Regions from separate parts of the Homo sapiens genome. Here region 2 is linked to region 1. The links are contacts of gene promoters, found by promoter capture Hi-C in blood cells and fetal thymus (Javierre and others, 2016). All regions are on one chromosome and are shown on one strand. Each heading gives the region's core, a stretch centred on a gene start or on the middle of the fragment in contact. The rest is flanking DNA. Distances are from core to core; before and after follow the strand shown.

Region 1 (6,274 bases), core at 1,198-3,697:
TGCATGTTCATTAGTTAATTCAACAAATATTTATTGATGCCTACTATTTTAAGCATTGGGGATATAACGATGAAAAAATAATAATAATAATAGCAGGCAAAAATCCTTGCCCACAGGGAGCTTCCATTCTACTAGAGACTTTACCTGTGGCAGGCACAGTGCTAAACACACCACAAACATTAATGTTCTTTGGTCTCAAATCACACAGTTTATGACAAGTTAGAAAACAAGTCACTTGATTCCAAAGTTGAAATTCCCACTTTGCCGAAATTAGATACTTGTGGCAAATCAAAGAAAAAATCATATTCCTCATCTTTGTAAAGTTTAAATTCTAAGTTCATTAGAGTAGACAGTGGAACATCAAGGAATTGTGCAATGGACAAAAAAAAAGAGAGAGAGAATGAGAAAGAGAGCAAGGCTGGTCATTCCTTGTGCCAAACACAAGACACATACATTTACCATTTGATTTCTTGTTTGTTTGTTTTTTTGAGACAGAGTCTTGCTCTGTCACCCAGGCTGGAGTGCAGTGGTGCGATCTCAGCTCACTGCAACCTCCGCCTCTGGGGTTCAAGCGGTTCTCCTGCCTCAGCCTCCCGAGTAGCTGAGATTACAGGCATGTGCCACCACACCTGGCTAATTCTTTTTTTTTTTTTTTTTGATATCTTTAGTAGAGACGGGGTTTCACTACGTTGGCCAGGCTGGTCTCGAACTCCTGACCTCATGATCTGCCCACCTTGGCCTCCCAAAGTGCTGGGATTACAAGCATGAGCCACCGCGCCTGGCCAATTTTTTTGTATTTTTAGTAGAGACGGGGTTTCGCCATGTTGGCCAGGCTGGTCTTGAACTCCTGACTCTAAGTGATCCGCCCACCTCAGCCTCCCAAAGTGCTGGGATTAAAGGTGTGAGCCAACATTTGGATTTTTTAGGTCTTCAGTTTTTTCCTTCATTTGGGGCTGGAGTAGAAAAACAGGAATTAGTGTTATGGGGAAGAGAGGGCAGTGGTTGCCTCTGGTGAGGAGCTCCGGATGCATTGGCGAGGAGCACAATGGCAGGCTCAATAGACTGGCAATGTTCTAGTTCTTAAGTTGGGTACTGCTCTCATGGGTGTTCATTTTATTGTGTCATTGTTACATATAATTTTGTACATCTCAAGCATTACATGGTAAACATGGGCACAGGGAGAATGACTTAAAGGAAAAACGTCAGGATACGCAACCAAGTAGAGTACTAATGAATGAAAAATGTGATCAATGTTAATGAAGGTGATGTAACAATAAGACCCAAAGGAGGAGATAAAATACTGACACTAAAATAAACAGCCTTTAACTGAAAACCTAATAAAATATCTTTTCCCCACCTCATAAGATGGATCTCAAAGGTCACTGAGTGGAGATAAGAGTCAGGAAATGGCATACAGAGTGCTAGCATTTTGCACTTTTGTTAGACTCTGAACAATCATTTATGGGCTGCAGTTTGTCTGAATCTAGGTACTTTTCCGGCTCTCAGGTAGAGCAGGAGTCATTTTTCTGCACGCTGTTCTCCTACCCCAACTATCATTTCTTAACAGGGATCTCTGGGGTCCACTCTTTGAGTGTTTTGAAACAGAAAGGAAGAAATCCAACATTATCACTTTAGTTTGCATTATCAGACAGATTGCACCTTCTGCTTTCTCCATACTGTGACCCAGTGTCCAGCCTAGGGTATTCGAATGGCAAGATCTGACCTGCGCAACAGCCAAAGGGAGCCACCAGCCTCCCCTATGCCACTCACATTTTCCCACCACCAATATCTGTAAGCGGTACCAGAAATCAAAACTGAGCCTTAAATAGTCAGAGCTAGTGAGGGGGTTGTATTTCTTAGCCCTGATAACCACTTAAACGAGTAAAATTTAATTCCCCTAAGGAACCCCGCCTGAAGCAAACCCTCCCCAAGGGCACCACTGAGGGGGTAGCGCTGAAATGTTTTGGAAGATTCAGTCACCTGTTTCCAAATATTACCTAACTAGCTTCGCCTCCTTCCCTCCGAGCTCCCCTGCAGTTACTCCAGGACCCCGAAGGCCTCTTTCTGGGCACATTTGGGCCTCCCCACTCAGACAAGCCGCACTTTCTCCCTGCTCACAGGCTGCATGTCAGGGATGGTAAGTGGGGGGTGGAGAAAGTGGAGAGGCCGGGGTTCAACCCAGCAGACTCCTGCAGACCGGGCCTCGGTCGGAGACGCGAGCCCCTAGCCTAGCTAGGTTCCTTCGTCGACCTTGAGAAAGGGGCGCGGATCCGTGTCCCGCAGAGGACACGGGGTCTCGGAGCCCGCACAGGCTGAGGGGCAGGGGTCCGGCCGAGCCGGGCCGCCTCACCTGCACTTCTGTCGGCCCACAGGATTAATGGCAGCACCAGCCCGAGTACAAGCCCCGGCGCGACCATGCTTGCAAGGATCTGACCGCCGCCTAGGACTGGGAAAGTGGGTTCCCGGCAGGGGCGGGGCCTGGGCGGGGGCGAGGCCGACTCCACCCTTTTGCAGTCCTCGCAGCCTCCCGCGACCTCAGGACTGGGCTGTACTCGCCCCTTCTCGGCCGCCGTAGTTTTTTTTTTTTTTTAAAGAAAAAACGGTTACCCAGCAACTAGAAAAACAACCGGAACCGGCGGCACCAGCTCGGAGAGAAAGGAGGTGAGGCCGCTTCCCCACTTCCTCTCCGATACCAAGACCTAGCCTTTTCCCTTCGTCTCTCTTATTCTCTCAGCATCCCAGACACAGCCTCGGAGCCCTGGGCCGTTTGGGAGCCGAGGCAGCCCATTCTGCGCGAGTCTGAAATCCCAGGTCCTCAACATCCCGCCCCCGACTAGACCCGTCTGCCCCCTCCGCCCGCCCTCCTCTGCCCACATTGGTTCAGAATCTCGCCAGCTCTTTTCACCACTCTAGAATGGTTCGATACCCCCATCTACTGCTCCCTCAGAAAAAGCAAAAGAGAGGAGTCAGGCGTGGTGGCGCGCGCCTGTAATCCCAATTGCTCGGGAGGCTGAGGCGGGATCATCGCTGGAGCCCAGGAGTTCGAGGCCAGAGACCCCCTCTCAAAGAAAAAAAAAGCGATGAAACGAGAACCCTCCATAGTCTGAGCCTCATTAAACCGTCCAGTTCTCCCAACCTGGACCCCTACCACGGCCTCCGCCTCTATTCCGCATTGACGCACACTCTCACATTAACAGGCCAGGTCCCGGAGGATTCTTTTCATACTCAGTAGTAGCTCAGCCCGCTGCTTAGCAGCTACCCTTAATCTAGCCCTTGTATTTCAAGACAGAAAGAGACAACCTGATCAAGAAGAAACCGAAAAATATAAGAATTCTAAAACTTTAGAGGCTGGGATTTCAAAATCATGACACACAGCCCCATCCCATCCCATCCCTCCCTCACACACACGCACGCACAACCCCATTCCACAGTACGAAGGTGTTCGAAGCATTGTGGGTCATGCTTCAGAAGTGGCAGCAAGGGGAAAGATTGTGCAACTTCTTCATTCAACAAATTAATTTCTAGAACCAGGACTAATTTCTACTCTTTAAAAAAAAATAGACCTCAAAGAAGGTCTTCTCAGCAATTGACAATGAATTTAACTTTTTAGCAATCATTCTCTCTAAATTCCTGTGTGATAGCAAAAATTACCCTTACCTTTTGAGCATATAAAGGGTAAAGAGAGAAAAAGTCATATTGAAAATTATGGGTTTTTTGCAGGATTTTAAATGATTTGGCCTAGTGAATGGGTCTGTGTTTGTATTATACTAATTCACAATGGAGATTTCAAAACTCTTTGGAAGAAATGGATGGGCTTGGGTTGTGTTAGGGAAAAAAGAATTCAAGTCCAGATGTATGAGTCTCAGAAATAATTTGTTGGCATAGTTGTGATTATATAAGTAAAATCAGACAAATTTAAAGACAGTACTCTTTAATGAATCTTTAGGTTCCATAGGCAGTTCTTACCAAGAAGATGTCGATTCCATTCTCCAACACCCACTACCGAATTCCACAAGGATTTGGGAATCTTCTTGAAGGGCTGACACGCGAGATTCTGAGAGAGCAACCGGACAATATACCAGCTTTTGCAGCAGCCTATTTTGAGAGCCTTCTAGAGAAAAGAGAGAGTAAGCTTTCTAAAATTAGTCATTTTTTAAAATAAGAAACTAAGCATTTGTTTATGGTAAAACTTGCTTAAGACCATCTCCATTCTGCAGAAAGCCTTTTATGAGGCAGGGAGTTTCAGATAACAGTTCTTGCTCTTTGAAACAGTATGTACCTCTTTGATATGTTCTCTTAAATTCGTTTCATATTATCGAAGATTACCAGTTCATTATTCAGACCGTCTTCATTGTATTTCTCACGGACATACAGCGTGGAAGGTAACTGCAAAAGAGCATACATTTCTCGGGAGAAATCAGTGGGGGAAAAAAAGATCATACAGTCTACCCTCGCCACGTTCCAGCATACTGTTCCTATGCATCCCTGGCAGCTGACTGTTATTCCTGAGATGAGTATCTGTGGTTTCCTTTCAATTTTGATTCCTTCCATTTGAAAGTATTTTAAGTACTGCAAAAAGAATTCTGCACTCTTTAAATAAACTGATATTCACTGGGGTATATGAAACTGTTCTGCAATAACGGCACAGACAAACTGATTTGAAAGGTGGAATACCAGTTTGGAAAGGTAATTTATATTCTTTATGCTAAATTCCATCCTGCACAGAGACCCAGATGCCCACTAACAATAACTATTTGGTTGAAAGCCAAGGCAAAATTCCTTCACTCCTATAAATAAAATTTACAAATCCCCAACCTTGAAGGTTTATGACTGTCAGGACTTTACCAGTTTTGTACTAAAAACCTATCCTAAGCCAGGCATGGTGGTGCGCACCTTTAGTACCAGCTACTCAGGGGCTGAGGCAGGAGGATCACTTGAGCCCAGGGATTCAAGACGGTAGTGAGCTATGATTAAACCTGTGAATAGCCACTGCACTCCATCCTGGGCACTCCCACGACCCCTGCCCCAACCCCTGGAAAGCCATTGTTGATTAGAACATCCATTTTGTATAAATTCTTGTCATCATTACTTTTTATTACAGTATTCTAACAGAGTGGTAAAGGTGACTAGAAATAGGCACAAGCAAACAAACATTCTATTGTAATCATTTTATAGTGGAAGAAAACCTAGCACAAGGGTAGAATTAAAACAACTCCCACACACACTGCATAGCTCCACCCCTTGCTTTTTTTGCCCTGCCCTAGCAGAGCTCAAAATCTCTGCCAATTTCCTGAATGTTGCTGGTCTTTTCCATATCCGGTCAGGGTGAATATCTGTTGCACAATCTGAAACTTTAAATATTTTCCACTGAAAACATTTGATAAACTATATTTAGAAGAGGAACGTTATTAAGAGAAATCATTTGGCAATAGACTTGGGGGCCTATGTGAGAGCAGAGGTAGGAGGAGGGTGAGGATTGAAAAACTACCTATCAGGCATTATGCTGATTACCTTGGTGACAAAATTGTCTCTACACCAAAGCCCCTTAACACAGAGTTTAACCATGTAACAAATCTGCACGTGTATCCCTTGAACCTAAAATAAAAGTTGGAAGGGGAAAAAACTAAAATTATTTGGGAAAAGAGGTGAATTATAATGAACATCAATTTTATTATAAGATTAACTACAAATTCTTGCAGTAAAAGTCTTTAGTCATTTATTTAATTTTAGAACTCAGAAATATTCCATTATAAAAACATTTGCGTCATTGTTACTGGATCACAATAATTAAAGCAAATGATGATTCAGATTAGTGGTCTCAGGACACTAGCTCTCTAATAAACAATGGGTAAAACCATTTGAAAAAATTGTAAGCACCACACCCAATTCCACCCATGTCAACCAAAGACAAATTATCTAGAAGATACAAGTATCAGAATTCAGTCTCTTCAAAAAGGAAAAAAAACAATCATTATGGACCTCTGGCTCAGTCTCCCACACAATGCAAGAATTCCCTTGCCAGCATTCATCATAGGTGGTTACTACTCTTAATTTTTATTTTTGTGATGGGGAACATGTTAGTATATGATTTAAATGGTATTTCAGGTCACTAGGAAAAAGGTGGACTTTTTGTTATTTTAAGATAAAGGAAAAAGATAAAATTGGATCAATTTCTTATACACAAAGACAAATTCCAAATTAGTCGAGTATATAAATATTTTTTAAAAGAAACCATACAGATACTAGAAGAAAATATGGATGAATTTCTCTATAA
Region 2 (6,610 bases), core at 212-2,711, 470 kb after region 1:
TGGACAGCACAGCGTAGTGGTTAAGAGCATAGACACCCAAGCTAGACTGCCCGGGTTTTTTTTTTTTTTTTTTTTTTTGAGACAGGGCCTCCCTCTGTCACCTAGGCTGGAGTGCTGTGGTGAAATCTTGGCTCACTGTAACCTCCACCTTCTAGGTTCAAGCGATTCTCCTGCCTCAGCCTCCCAAGTAGCTGAGACTACAGGCACCCACCACCACGCCTGGCTAATTTTTTGTATTTTGGTAGAGATGAGGTTTCACCACGTTGCCCAGGATGGTCTCGAACTTCTGAGATCAGGCAGTCTCGGCCTCCCAAAGTGCTGGGATCACAGGCGTGCACCACTGCCCCCAGCCAACTGCCTGGGTTTTAATCCTGCCTCCTCCATTTGTTAGCCAAGCGGCCCTGGACAAGTGACTATTTAATCTCTCTGTGCTTCAGTTTCCTCATCCATAAACTAGAATTAATAGAATCTACTTCATAGTGTTGTCGTGAGGATTAAAAGAGCTAATACACATAAAGCCCCTAAAACAACACCTGGGACATGGTTAGTATTAACTAACGCAATAAACACTAGCAATTATTAATGAAAAGCAAAGGAATTTTATAGAACTGAAGGCAAGCACCAGAAGAGGCAGTCCCAGAAGAGGCTTTGAAAGGTAAGGAGGGAGCTTATGGATGAACAAGCGAAGCATTTCCACAAGGAACACACGCAGTGATGCTGAGGAATGATGCAGCCAATCAGGTGGCAGGGAAAAGCTCACGACTTCTTGGAACCTGCAGAGCCCAAGTTGGCATTTTTTCCAGCAGAATCAGAAGCATCAATGGGGTGAGTCCGAAGTGTCGAAAAGTGGAGCAGCTTGTTCTCTGGGATCTTCAGCGTGTTTGCTTATGAAATGTCAGCCACGCTGGCTCCCCCGACCTCCTCAGCCTCATTCCACCCCCTCTTCATCTCACCCTCCAGGCTCCATCCATAAAGAAACGTGTTCAGGTCCTCTGACAGAACTTGCTCCTCTTCCCTCAGGGTCTTCACACATGTGGGCGTCCTGCCCTGAGTACTCTCTCCTGTTTGCACCTGTTAATCCTCCCTTCAGGTCTATATTTGGATGGCAGGTTCTCTGGAAAACCTTCCATCCCCCTGTAGCCTGGGTGGGGCGGCCCTAATCTGCGCTCCCATAACACTGTGCCCTTCCCTGCTTACCCTTGTATCTGTCAGCTCCAGCTATGTAGCAAAATGCCACAGACTGCGGGGCTTAAACAACAGACATTTATTTTCTTACAGTTCTGGAGGCTGGATGTTCAAGATCAACGTGTTAGCAAGGTTGGTTTCCGGGGAAGCCTCTCTGTTTGGCTTGTAGGTGGCTGCCTTCTCCCTATGCCCTCCCATGACCTCTTTGTGCACAGGTTGGCAGAATGAGGAGGAGGGAATCTCTGTTTTTTTCTCTTTTTATAAGGACACCAGTCCTATTGGATTAGACCCCCACCCTTGTAACTTTAACCTTAATTACTTCCTTAAAGACCCTATCTCTGCAGGACACGGTGGCTCACACCTGTAATCCTAGCACTTTGGGAGGCTGAGGCAGGCAGATCACTTGAGGTCAGGAGTTTGAGACCAGGCTGGCCAACCTGGTGAAACCCCGTCTCTACTAAAAACACAAAATTAGCCGGGTGTGGTGGCGGGTGCCTGTAATCCCAACTACTCGGGAGGCTGAGACAGGAGAGTCACTTGAACCAGGGAGGTGGAGGTTGCAGTGGGCCGAGATCACGCCATTGCACTCCAGCCTGGGCAACAAGAGTGAAACTCCATCTTAAAAAAAAAAAAAAAAAAAAAGAAGACTTATCTCTAAATACAGTCACATTAGTGGTTAAGGTTTCAACATATGAATTTGGTGGGGGGTGCAATTCAATCCATAACACCCCATTAGAAGATAAATTCCACGAGGGTAGGGCCTTGTCTATGGCTATGTGTTCCCCAGCACTGAGGCCTCACCCTGTCTCCTCATGATTCTCTAATTTCTACAGAACCTGCTCATAGCAAGGGTGCAATAAATATCTGTTGGGTGAATGAATGAATGAGTCAATTACTTGTGATGACAGCAGGAGTTTGGGAAACATAAGAACTCATAATCTAGTTTTAGGTTGTCTTTTTACAGAAGAGGAAACTGAGGCATGAGGATCCTTGCTAGTTCGTGGCAGAATGAGAGTTGGCAGTCAGATTCTCTGTCTCCCCCGCTACTCTGAGTCCATGCTTTTTTCATCTGGACCAAGAGTTGTCAGATAGCTGTATAAAACTGCCGGTTAAAAAAAAATCCTTGTCCAGACTTTCCTTAGACAAAAAAGTCTTTGGGCTGGGGGTAGTGGCTCATGCCTGTAATCCCAGCACTTTGGGAGGCCGAGGTGGGAGGATCACTGAGGTCAGGAGTTCGAGACCAGCCTGGCCAACATGGTGAAACCCCGTCTCTACTAAAAACACAAAAATTTGCTGGGCGTGGTGGCGGGCACCTGTAATTCCAGCTACTGGGGAGGCTGAGGCAGAAGAATCACTTGAACCCGGGAGGCAGAGGTTGCAGTGAGCCAAGATCGCGCCATTGCACTCCAGCCTGGGTGACAGAGTGAGACTCCATCTCAAAAAAAAAAAAAAAAAAAAAAAAAAAAAAAAGAAAAGAAAAAGAAAAAGAAAAAAGAAAGAAAAGTCTTTGGTTTTTCATTGACAAGCAAATGAAACTGTCTCTCTGAGGGTCTCCTCTCATCCTAGCAACTTAGTCTGCTAGGACTAAGCAATCTGTTAAGGCACTTGAAATGTGTGTCCTCCTTCCCCTCTCATTAGAGGCCTGGAATTTGGTCTGGGTGAGGTCAGGGATTTCCTTGCCACAGGCTTTGATTCTGAGCTGACTACCCAGGTGTGTGGCTCTTTAGAGTCCTGCCTCTCTGCTAATGGGTTTTGTTAACTGTTTGTCATTTGCTTATGCAAATCTACCTCTTTCTGCATTAAAATGAACCCAATTATAAAGTGAAATTTCACAACTAAACCACTTAGTGAAGGACATTAAGCGACCAGAAGGAATTGATTTGTAAAAACTTCAGCGATAATTACCAAATGTTTCTGAAATGTGACTAAGTTCTAGGTTTTTCTTTAAACAAACACACATACTTGCACATTTTCATATATGTACTGCACAGACACTTGCACGTATTTTCACACACCTGGTTTCCATCTTCTCACTATGGGACTTGTTCTTGCTCCTTCTCTGGGTCTAAATTTTCCCCAAATAGAGGAAATTCCACCAGCCATCAGATCATGTCTGCAAAGTTCTTGGAAACCTTCCAAAAGAAATGGCCACTGGGCCGAGGAAGCTGGGGCGGGGGGCAGGAAAATAGAAGAAGGCATAGTGGTTTTAATAAAGTCTCTTGACCACTTTGGTGATTGATTGATATATTTTGGCATTTGCTTCCCTGCTCTGCTGTAATCGATAGCAGTTGTAGGCCGAGGAGCAGGAAAGGGTGGGAACGTGGGATGGGGGCAGCATTGATTGATCTTTACGGGAAACAGCCTTGCCTGGTGATTGCAGTGCTATGGCACAAGAAACAGGACCTTGTGGTCCCAGGGAAAGGTGACTTTCCTTATACCCCCTCCCTCCCCTGCCAGGCAGGATGGCATGGCGTGCAGAAACTTGGAGATGGATAAGGATACACTGGCATCCACCTAAAAAAATGAGCCATGCTGGTGTTTGGGAGAGCCAAAGTCACACTCACCTCTCCCCTTGCACCCTCAGTTCGAGCGCAGAAATCATAGTCTCCTGGGCTGCTGCAGGACAGGGTGGGAAGAGTCTTTAAGGGTGAAGAGGTGATGAAATGCTTACGGGTTCCAGGTTACATCTATATCCAGGAATGACTCCAACTCCCTTGGCAGCATGCTGCTGCTCAGACCGTATAATGTAGAGGTGACTTCAGCACAGACTCTGGAGCCAGCTTGCCTGCATTCAAAGCCGGCCCTCCACTTACTGTGCGACCTTAGATGGGTTAACTCACCTTCCTTGTACCTTGATTCTCCCATCAGTAAAATGGAGATGACAACAGTACCTATTTCCTAGGGTTGCTGTGATAGTGATGAGAGTTAATGCATGCAAAGGACTTGGAAGGGCTCTGGCATAAAGGAAATGCTATGTATTAATATATGTTGCTATTATTATCTGATGGTGGTGAACACCCAGGCTGGCATCCATGATTTATGGGTGGAAACTTAAAGGCACAAGTTTCTCTAATCAAACAGGGTCATCACAGCTTTTGTCTTCTGGTGCTGAGAACACAAGGCTCAGGACTTGGCATCTGCTAAATAATTCTCTTAGTGCATCAGCCTATTAGCTACAGGATTTCTCAACCCTTTTAGATTAATACTTTTTCCTCAAAGCTTTTAAAAATAGCAGAAAAATAGGAATAATTTGGATTGGGAATGATAGTTTCAGTGTCCAAGAGGTACAATTAAGACAGATATTCATTCATTTAACAAACACCAAACTCCTACTAAGTGCAAGACAGTTTCAACTGATGTGATGGTTTCCATCCATGAACCTGAACTTAGTGCAGATACACTCAGATGTGTAATCACAACCCTCTGCAATGTCATAAGTAGTTTTCATGTAACTGGAGATCCCTCTGTCAGAGCAACATGCTCAAAATAGAAAATGGTTTAAGGAGCATTTGCCACATAACATTTTTGTTGAAAACATATTCATTTTTGAAGTATAGTTGTATTTTCTTCTATTGACATGGGTGAATGTTTGGTTTTTAGAAATTCATTTTAGCACATGAAGTGACTTTGGGGCTTATTTTCTTTCTAATCATAGAGCTGGATGCCGTGACTAACGGCAGCTGGCAGATTGGCAAGTGAGTACCAAGGGACCCAGGTTGAGGGGTTCCATGACAGGCTCCTAAGAAGTGAGAACTGGAAGGAGCCCCAGGGATTATTGAGGTCATCCCTTTCATTTGAAGGCTGAGCCCTTGGTGGTGGGTATGGCTTTTCACAGCTGAATTGGAACCCGGGCCTCTTGATTCCGAGCATGGTGCTATTTCCCGTGCTGTGAGCCTGTTGTTGATGCCCTCCCAGCTCTGCAGCAGGCCCTTTGCCTTCTTCAAATCGCCTGCTGATCTTAGGTTCCTGTATCAGGCTAAGTTATTATCTGATAATCAGTTCAAGTCCATGAAGATGCTCTGAGTACTTGACTTGGTGCCAAGCATTGTGTTAGGGCCAGGATATCAAAATAAGATATGAAACCTACCAAGGAGACTGTGACAGACGGTATTAGTGTGCCCAATTGTTTGCTGCCTTGCCCTGTGAAAGGCTTATACTGATGTCAGACCTGGTCATGTGGCTTGCTTTGGCCAGTGAAATTTGAGCAGAAGCTTTCTCCTCAAAGCCTGAGCAGGAGGTTTCAGGGACATTTTGCGGTTCCACTGCGTTTTCTCTTTTTTATCTTCTAGAAGAGTGGCATGTCCAGAATAGGGCCAGGCCTCTCTAGCTGGGTCCCACAATGAAGAGAAGACGTGGAATGCCAGTGCCACAGCCGATGTGTAACATAATGAGAGATAAACCTTTGCATGGTGAGCTGCTGTGATTTTATGGTTGTTTATCCCGCAGCATAACCAGCATAAGCTGATGGCCACAGAGAGAATCACAAATCAGTTGGAGAGATGGTTTATTTACAACCGAAACACAGGGTGATGGATGCTTTGCTAGATGCATCCACAGAAGATTCAAAAATAGGTGAAAAGAGGGAATAACTCTCTCTTTGGGAAGGAGGGTTCAGGAAAGGCTTTCTAGGAGAGGAGATAGATTGGAGGTGTTTAAAGGTTGAGGAGATGTCCACCACATTAGGTGATTAGAGCTTTATTTATTGAAGCACTCTAATCAGAGAGACCAGCATGCACAGACATGAAATATCACAGCATATTTGAGAATTGCCTGTACCCTCCACAGCTGTAGGCCAGGGTCAGCATTCTTTATCTTTGTAGCCTACTGGTCTCCAACCACTGTGTCAGGTCCCCAAGGGGTATCTGCAGAAACGCGGATAAAGACGCATCGTTTATTTCGATCAGAGCTTTGACCACAAATCCTCATCTGATCCCACAGCCTGAAAAGCTGAGCTGGGATGTGTGCATGTCATGTGGACTCTCTTATAAAAGTTTAATTTTTATTTATCAAAGAATATATATAGATAGTTTGGAAATCAACAGTGGCCTCGCCTCACCTCTCCACGCTCCCAAGTCCTGCCCCAAGGCAGTTACCATCAACTCCTACATCTCATTTCTTTTTTGTGTATATCGCTGTGTTTCTAAATAATATGCTTATATTGTTACTACTTAATTGACCAATTTTAGGAATTATGTATTGATTTACTGCCATGTAGAGAGCTTAATTCTCTCATGGTGTTGTCTCCCAACTCCATCCTTGTTCTTCCCCTCCTCCTATCTCTTCAACATAAACTTACTCTTTAGTTCAATCACTATTTGATGTTTCTATGCTAATGACTATGCAAATATAATTTGCTACCAAGTCAAGTAGTACAATGTGACCTTGTGTCCTTTTTCATACAATCCATTGTTTTTCCTGGAATTTA

What was found. Contacts are between HindIII fragments. The CHiCAGO score rates a contact against its expected background, and 5 or more counts as called.
Region 2: a fragment that was not itself captured here is called in contact with the fragment with the promoter of SIAE in region 1 in 2 of 17 cell types (naive CD8 T cells and total CD8 T cells); the score reaches 7.3 in naive CD8 T cells.

The regions. Positions count from the first base shown.
Region 1 is chr11:124,671,292-124,677,565 of GRCh38, forward strand. It overlaps SIAE (sialic acid acetylesterase), which reads right to left and starts at 2,448. Exons shown (of 10, transcript NM_170601.5): 1 at 2,351-2,448. The coding sequence starts at 2,417. SPA17 (sperm autoantigenic protein 17) reads left to right here and starts at 2,613. Exons shown (of 5, transcript NM_017425.4): 1 at 2,613-2,661; 2 at 3,947-4,127. The coding sequence starts at 3,974. LOC124902780 (a long non-coding RNA gene) reads left to right here and starts at 4,134. Exons shown (of 2, transcript XR_007062933.1): 1 at 4,134-4,271; 2 at 4,375-4,814. RefSeq lists silencers at 2,384-2,503, 2,476-2,634 and an enhancer at 2,544-2,723. The HindIII fragment of the contact is 8,074 bases long and covers 1-4,130 here.
Region 2 is chr11:125,143,583-125,150,192 of GRCh38, forward strand. No RefSeq gene overlaps it. Among named protein-coding and RNA genes, the nearest start is that of PKNOX2-DT, 18 kb to the right of the region's middle. The HindIII fragment of the contact is 5,881 bases long and covers 1-4,402 here.